3 separate regions of the Homo sapiens genome follow, and regions 2 and 3 are each linked to region 1. The links are contacts of gene promoters, found by promoter capture Hi-C in human tissues and cell types (Jung and others, 2019). All regions are on one chromosome and are shown on one strand. The core of a region is centred on a gene start or on the middle of the fragment in contact, and the rest is flanking DNA. Distances in the headings are between cores, read along the strand shown. Region 1 holds the start of CCL13 (C-C motif chemokine ligand 13). Region 2 holds the start of LOC124903983 (a long non-coding RNA gene). Region 3 has its middle 270 kb from the start of LINC01989.

What was found. The method cuts DNA at HindIII sites, captures the fragments that hold promoters and counts their contacts. A contact is called where the count stands out against the background at its distance.
Region 2: a fragment that was not itself captured here is called in contact with the fragment with the promoter of CCL13 in region 1 in 1 of the 25 tissues and cell types used here (mesenchymal stem cells).
Region 3: a fragment that was not itself captured here is called in contact with the fragment with the promoter of CCL13 in region 1 in 1 of the 25 tissues and cell types used here (mesenchymal stem cells).

The regions. Positions count from the first base shown.
Region 1 is chr17:34,355,198-34,357,897 of GRCh38, forward strand. CCL13 (C-C motif chemokine ligand 13) reads left to right here and starts at 1,283. Exons shown (of 3, transcript NM_005408.3): 1 at 1,283-1,405; 2 at 2,278-2,392. The coding sequence starts at 1,330. The HindIII fragment of the contact is 2,821 bases long and covers 356-2,700 here.
Region 2 is chr17:33,931,178-33,933,877 of GRCh38, forward strand. LOC124903983 (a long non-coding RNA gene) reads right to left here and starts at 1,469. Exons shown (of 2, transcript XR_007065719.1): 1 at 1,423-1,469; 2 at 1-200. It also overlaps a transcript of ASIC2 not described here. RefSeq lists an enhancer at 33-327. The HindIII fragment of the contact is 5,499 bases long and covers 1-2,700 here.
Region 3 is chr17:33,913,944-33,916,643 of GRCh38, forward strand. It overlaps a transcript of ASIC2 not described here. Among named protein-coding and RNA genes, the nearest start is that of LINC01989, 270 kb to the right of the region's middle. The HindIII fragment of the contact is 8,443 bases long and covers 1-2,700 here.

The DNA of each region.
Region 1 (2,700 bases), core at 33-2,532:
AAGTAGCTGGGATTACAGGCATGTGCCACCATGCCTGGGTAATTTTTGTATTTTTTTTAGTAAAGACAGGGTTTTACCATGTTGTCCAGGCTGCTCTAGAACTCTTGACCTCAAGTGATCCCCCCGCCTCAGCCCCTTTTTTCTTTTTTTTTTCATTTTCAGTTCAGGAGAGTTTTAGCTTAATTATAGGCTACAGAACCAGCTTTGGGCTTCATCTATCCTTTCTAATATTTACTGTTTCCTATTTCTCTAATCCTAGCTCTTTATTTCTTCCCTTTACTTTCACTGGGCTTATTTTGCTATAGTGGAATGCAGAGGGATGAGTATTCCAGGAAGGCACAAAAACTGTGCCAAGTCTTGGAGCTAGGGATGAGTGGGAAAGGGACATGTTCAACCATTTTAAGCCATTCCCTCCCCACCTCCCAGCTCCCAGATATGTGCCCCTCGCAGGAGGAGCCCAGGAATGGGCCAAACACCTCACTTCTTTGCTCTGAGGGCCACCCCAGCCCTCCCATCAACAGCTCTAGAAACCCAATGGTCCTTCCTGGAAACACGGGGCCTGCATCAATCAGAGGTGTTTGAACCATGTCCCTCTGGGCCTGAGGGGCAGAAGGGGACACAATATGTAATGTAAGGAGCCCCTGTCATCAGAAATCTGACTTAATCTGTTTCAGATATTAGACTTCCACATAAAAGTTGACTTGGAAAAAGACTTCTGCTGCTAAACAAAAGTTGAAACTGCCTTGGTGATAAAATATAAGCAGACCAGCTTTCTCTTCTAGCTTTCCCTCTCATTTCCCATAAGATTTTGGTCAAGTTATTTAATCTCTCTGCATCCGTTTCCTCTTCTATGAAATGGGCATGATAATAATGGTATGTACCTCCTCAAACTAAATATATAACGTGAACAGAGTCCTTAGCACAGCACTCTTTCTCTACAGGAGTTAATTTTCATTGTTTTTCTCTTTCCTGTTGGAGAAAGTAAGAAGAAAACAGCTCCTTTATGGCTTCCCATGGTGAATGGCTGGGGCGCGTCTGTGTCCCTTTCTCCTCTCTGGCTCCTTGTGGCCTGAACAGCCAGAAGGAAGCCATGCCATGCTGTTTCAGCCCTCAGCTTCCCTCTTGCATTTCCTAGAAAAGTCTTTGGTGCCCAGCTCCAGCTCAGCAGATTCAGGATCCCCCTTCATCATGACTTGGTCAACGCCCTGCTCAGGCCAAGGTCCTCTGAGAGTTCCAAGCTTCTCCACTCCCTATAAAAGGCCGGCGGAACAGCCAGAGGAGCAGAGAGGCAAAGAAACATTGTGAAATCTCCAACTCTTAACCTTCAACATGAAAGTCTCTGCAGTGCTTCTGTGCCTGCTGCTCATGACAGCAGCTTTCAACCCCCAGGGACTTGCTCAGCCAGGTAAGTCACCTCCCTTCGACTCTCCCTCTCTTTCCCTCTGTTTCTCTATTCAAGGAAGACCTAAGCCCGAGTGCTCCTCCACTTTTTTTTTAGATTGAGTCTCATTATGTTGCCCAGGCTGAAGTGCAGGGGTGCGATCTTGGCTCATTGCAACCTTCACCTCCCAGGTTCAAGCGATTCTCTTGCCTCAGCCTTCTGAGTAGCTGTGATTACAGGCACCCGCCATCACGTGCAGCTAATTTTTGTATTTTTAGTAGAGAAGGGGTTTCACTATGTTGGCCAGGCTGGTCTCAAACTCTTGACCTCAAGTGATCCTCCCGTCTCGGCCTCCCAAAGTGCTGGGATTACAGGCGTGAGCCACCAGGCCCAGCCAAGTGCCCCACTTCTAAGCCCACCAGAATAGTAAGGCTCCTCAGAGGTTCACTTTAACATCTAATTTTAAAGATAGAAAGCTGAAGCCCATGTTGGAGGCAGAAGGGACCCTAGCCATCCACCTCCAGGTTATTGCAGAGCAAGAATGAAACCTAAGCTTCTGACTCCAGATTTAGGGCCTTTTCTTTGACCTCATCTGATCGTCCCAAACTCTGCAGATCTGGGACCACACCCAGGACCTTTCCCACTGGCCTTGCCCGTGGCCTCCCCTAGATGGCTGTGACATGTCTCCACCATGCAGCTGAGCCTTTGAGATCCTGAGGCACATGTCACAGGTCCCACCTCACCTCAGGGTCTAGGGTGGGAGTGCTGGGCTTGGGGGTGAGTAAGATCTATTTCTTCCTCTTTGCTTTGCATCCCATACAGATGCTCCCTGCTGTATTCAAGCTGAGAAAAGCCTAACACATCCTCAAAGTCTTTTTCTTTGTAACTATTTCTAGATGCACTCAACGTCCCATCTACTTGCTGCTTCACATTTAGCAGTAAGAAGATCTCCTTGCAGAGGCTGAAGAGCTATGTGATCACCACCAGCAGGTGTCCCCAGAAGGCTGTCATGTGGGTAGAAAAATCCCTGCTCACCTGGCTCCTCCCCACTCCCACATTCCCCAATCCAAAGTTCTGCCCCAGGAGACAGACGTCAGACTGACTTGAGATCTTAGGATGAGATCTAGCCAGACTGTGTGATGCAAATCCTCCAATTTTGGCTGCACAACAGGTCCAAAGAGGACCTATAATTTCCCACACCTTGTTTCCTGGATGGGCACCAGCCCACACCCTTTAGCAGATGCCAGGATCAGTTTCCCAGGGGCAGCAAGAGCAGTGGCTGCCTCCAGAGACCCCTTCTGTCCACACACCTCCTACTT
Region 2 (2,700 bases), core at 130-2,629, 420 kb before region 1:
GTCTCCAAAAACCGAGCTCCCCGAGCGAGCAATTCCTGTCCCTTTTAAGGGCTTACAGCTCTAAGGGGGTCCGTGTGAGAGGGTCGTGATCGATTGAGCAACCAGCGGGTACGTGACTGCGGGCTGCACGCACCGGTAATCAGAACAGAGCAGAACAGGCCAGGGATTTTCACGATGCTTTTCCATACAATGTCTGGAATCTATAGATAACACAAGCAGTTAAGTCAGGGGTTGATTTTTAACTACCAGGCCTGAAATGCAGCGCCGGGCTGTCTGACTACTGATTTCACTTCTGTCTTTTCTTTAACTCCTACTTTTTCTTTGAGGCAGAAATTGGTCATAAGACAATATGAGGGGTGGTCTCCTCCCTTACCTCTAGCTTGATGCAAAGGAGGGCTGGTATCCCTGCTTTAGCAAAGCACAGCGCTTCTCCACCCCTTAAGCTCTCTTAGGCAGCTGACAGCAGCTTATCAAACACTTGTTCTGTGTGTTGTCAACTGGGAGTGTTCTCAGGTTCCTCTAAGCCACCAGCTAGCCTGAAGGTGCAGTCTGGGAAAAGGACTGCTTTGCTGAATCCCTCTTTATGAGCTAGAAGGGCCTTCTGAACATGGGCCAGGCTCCATCAGTTTCAGAGCGGGAGGTGGTGGAGTGTATCTACTCAAAACTGCATGGGGAATGAGCGCTGTTCGGCCGTTCTCAACATTTCCTTTAAGAAAGTAATGTTGGCGCTGATTCCAGTAGACCTTTAAAAAGGCTCTTTATTCAAGTCTTAGAACTGATTAGATGAGAGCCATGCTGGGTCTGTCGGGCTCAATTTATATCCTCTCTACTTCTGGGCTCAATTTATATCCTCTCTGCTTCCCAAGAGGGAGCTGAGCCAGGCCAGGTAGGTTCCCCAGAATAGGCAGGGTCAATTCCAACGCCACCTTCCCAGGGTGATCTGGAATGGGTTCTTTCTCCCTCTCTCTCCCTTCACCAGGTGCTCCTGCAGAGGAACCTGGTGTCTTCCCCACCCCAGGCTGCAGGAGCTCTCTGTTCAATGCAGTATCCACTGGCCACATGTGGCTTTGAGCTCCTGAAACATGGCTGGTCTAAACTGAGATATGCTATAAGTGTACAGTACACATCAGATTTTGAAGACAGTATGACAAAAGGTGAAATATGTCATGAATATTGTTTATATTGATTGCATGTGGAAATGATAATACTTTGGATATATGAGGCTAAATAAAATATAGTATAAAAGCCAGGCATGGTGGCTCATGCCTGTAATCCCAGCACTTGGGGAGGCTGAGGCTGGCGGGTCACTTGAGGTCACCTGAAGTTGGGAGTTCGAGACCACCCTGACCAACATGGAGAAACCCTGTCTGTGCTAAAAATACAAAATTAGCCGAGCATGGTGGCACATGCCTGTAATCTCACCTATTTGGGAAGCTGAGGCAGGAGAATTGCTTGAATCCAGGAGGCGGAGGTTGCAGTGAGCCAAGATCATACCATTGCACTCCAGCCTGGGCAACAAAAGCGAAACTTTGTTTCAAAAAAAAAAAAAAAAAAAAAAAAAAAAATATATATATATATATATATAGTATGATAAATTAATTTCCCCTGTTTTATTTTTAAAATATGGTCACTGGAAACTTTAAAAGTGCCTTTGTGGCTTGCATTAAATTTCTATTGGGCAATGCTGTCCTAGAAGCATTTTAGACTGCAGAGGTTTAGAGATTTACAGCTGAGACTCTGGGTGAAGAGCAGGAATGAGAAAGATCAAGAAGGCAAAGATTCTGCCACTTCTCTGCTCAAAACTTTCTAAATTTTGATTCCTTCTGATTCCTTCCTCAAGACCTCTGAGGTCTCTAAGGCCCTGGAGGCCTTGCACAGGCTGGTCCATGTCCTCCCACCCTCGTATGTCTCCTGGAGCTCCAGTCAACCTGACCTTGCTTTTCAGCATAGCCAGCCATGCCCATCACAGGGCCTTTGCACATGCTGTTACTTCTGCCTAAAACACTCTCCCCTGGACAGTTGCATGCTTAGAAAGTCACCTCCTCAAAGAAGCCATCCCTGATTCACTTCCTCAATCCCAGTCAGAACCAATCACTATCCCTTCACCCTGCTTTGTTTTTCTTTAAAATTCTTATTACTCCCTGACATTGAATTGCATGTTTACTTTCTGTTTCCTCCAGACAGGGAGCCTCTGTCTCTTTTATTCACCGCAGTGCCTGGCACATACTGGATACTCAGAGAATGCTTGTTCAATGAACACAAACATCAATGCTGCAAGGCCAATGAGATTCAGCCATTTTTCAAATGAATAAGCTCAGGCTTGGAAAGAGGTGAGTACGGGACAGAGCAGGAATTGATTTCAGCGACTGCACCGAGCTGTGAGGGACAGTGGCTGGGTGACCTGGGAAGTCACCTCTTCTAGGACCTCATGCACTGGGAATGTGCCCTAATCCAGGGGATGAGGACCAACTTAGCAGGGAAGAAAATAAAACCAAGAGAAAAAGGCCACTCTGACTTGCTCTGGACATTTCCTGTGGGAAACAGATGTCAGGATTAAAAGGAAAGAGCAGGTGTGAGGTCTCACTCGTTCATACTCCGGCATCACAGAATCCTTTGAGGAGGCACGTGGGGCCAACCTAGACAGGCTATCAATAATCAAGGTCCTTCCAGATGCACGAAACAGGCCTTAGAGCCTCAGAG
Region 3 (2,700 bases), core at 26-2,525, 440 kb before region 1:
AACTAAAACTCGGAGACTATGTCTGGGTTGTCCAGAAAATAGAGCTCAGAGCCAAGCTTACTTACTAAACTTTATCGCAGGGCGAGACCATAATCCCAGGGAATCATAAATAAGGGAAAGGGGGCGTAGAGTAGAGTAGGAAGAGAAGCAGTTTCAAGGTGATGCACAACTGAGCTGGCCACAACATTGCAAGAAAACACAACTGGTTGCTCCATCTCACAAGATGATGCTGGAGAGGCCATATAGGACATCTACATTGCAAACGGTCCATTGTGGGCTGGGCAGGTGAGAATTTACTGGCTGGTTTCTTCCAGGCTCCTGTCTTTCATTACGAAAGTTGGCCCTGTAGGGTGGTGACTCTGCAGTTCTCATTTATGTTATCCAGCCTCTCAGGGCAGCCAGTGGGGAAGCCAGAGCCTCTGTGAGTCAGTTGGGGTGGACCTGGATGCTGATGGTCTGTGGTTCCCTTCAATTCGTGTGCAATAGAGGCCCTGACAAAACCCAGTTCAGTCTCAGGGGAGCCTCGATGAATCTGCAGAGTTTGGGAATCAGGAGACAGAGATGGTGGCCAGAGTTTTACAACTGCAGGAACAGGCTAAGGGGTAGGTGGTGTCTTCTGATGGGGAAGCCAAACAAGCGACCAAGAATGAAGGCCATATGGGGCCACCTGGATGTGGGGTGGCACATAAAGAAGTTGAGGACACGCAGTGTTGTAGGGACCTGCTCAAGGTTACACAGACTGTATATAGCAGAGTTGGCATTCAAACCCAGGCCAGTCTGACTCTAAAACACTTTTATTTTTCAATGACCTCAAGATGCCTTCCATTGCTGAGATTTTAAGTAAGCTGGGAAAGGGAGCCATGGTTTTCTGAGCTGTCTGGCTCAGGGCCATGAGTAGATAAATGCTTACGAAGTAGTCACAGTTGATCGATCAGGTGACAAGAATGCCCATAGGCCTGTGTTGTTCTTTTCTATATCTTAAGAATAGATACTTTCGGAAGGCATGATCCATCATGTTTAGAACTCTTCATATGGTCTGCTGTGGCTGTCTTAACTCAACCTGAAGGGTTAGCACCAAACACAGCTGGCGTACGCAGGCAACATATGACTGGACAGTGCTCTGCCCTCACCTCGGCCTGCCAGATAGATGTCAAGGGCATCAGCAATGAAATTAAATGGCTCCATTTCCTTGAAGGGTTAGGAGGAACTTGGATTATTGGTGACAAGACCAATAATCCAAGAAGTGAGGCTCAATAGCTGTGCAAATCTGAGACCTGGGAGCAAGAAGACAATACACCTTTACAGGTGTGCCTGGCTTTAAGAAAGCCCATCATTTGCCAGGGGCTTCTCAGTTCTTTTGTATTTGTCCTTCCCCCATCTCAGAAGCATGAATGGGCCCCACCTCCCTCCAGGGCTGTTCCTGCTCTCTACCCCAGCCTTTCTTGGTTCTCTTGGAAAGTGAGTACTCCTTCAATTACTGCCCTGGCATCTCTCTCACCTTCAATGTCTTCCTACTTGCCTTGGGGTCCTCTTCTCAGCTTTCAGACATGTTCAGATTTATCCCATTTAAGATGACTTTTGCCCATTTCTCCTCAAGCTACAGCCCGTTTTTCTGCTTCTCAATTTTCTCAAATGAGCATCTATTGGCTCTTAATCACACACTCGATACTTAACTGTTTCAACACTAGTTTCCCTCTCACCAGTCTCCCGAAGTGCTTTCTGCAGAGGCCGCTGCAATAAACATCTAATGTTTCTGCCACTCCTCATAGCATGCATTTTCCCTTTTTCTACAGCGAAGAAACTGGAAAACTGACTTGAGGGTAAAGGATGCAAAGGGGTTTCATTGACTTCTAGGTTTCACTATTGACTAGCTGAGTGAAAGTCAAGAGGAGAATCAAGTTTGGGATTGAGGGTTGTGGGGAAGATGGCATAGGTGAGATTGAAGGCACACCAGGCCTGAGGCCCCGTGGGGACACTCAAGAGCATGATGTCCAGCACACTGTGAGGAAAGCAAAGCTGAAATCCCCAGAGGAGGGAGACTCAAAAGAGGATACCACAGGGTGTTTCTTCCTTCTTCCAGGGAGAAGAAGGGAGAATGCAGACTATGCCTACTTTCCTACCTCCTTGACTTTGCTTATGCTACTTCCTTTCCCTTTTCCATATTCCAATTCTCCTCCCAGATAACCAGTTCCTTTTTCACTCCCAACATATGAGATTTGGTTTGGCTAGGCATGCAACTCCAGGGTGGATAATATGATCTTGACCTGAGCCAGTTAGTGATCTGTGCAGGGATGGGCACATGAGACTTTTTCTGAGGCTGCTGAGACAAAGACCATTTCTCTTTGCTGTTGGATTTAAACCTGAGAGAAGAAAGGCCTTGGGCTACTAAGTACCGGTAGGTACTTAATACCACAAGGAGAGAGAGCTGGGCTGGGCATGAAGCCCACCCAGAGAGGTGGAGCTGAGAACTGGAGAGAACCAAAGTAGGATCCTGGTGACATCATCTGAATCCCTGAATCATGCCACACCTGATGACATCCCTATTTGCTAGTCTTTTCAATTTAACTCAGTCTTTTAGCTGAAGCCAGCTCACTGGGATTTATGTTATTTCCAGAAGAAAGAATTCTAGCTGATGCAGAAATCTAATACAATCATCAGTGACCTCTGAAATACCAAAATCAAGACTCTCTTCTTAGTCTC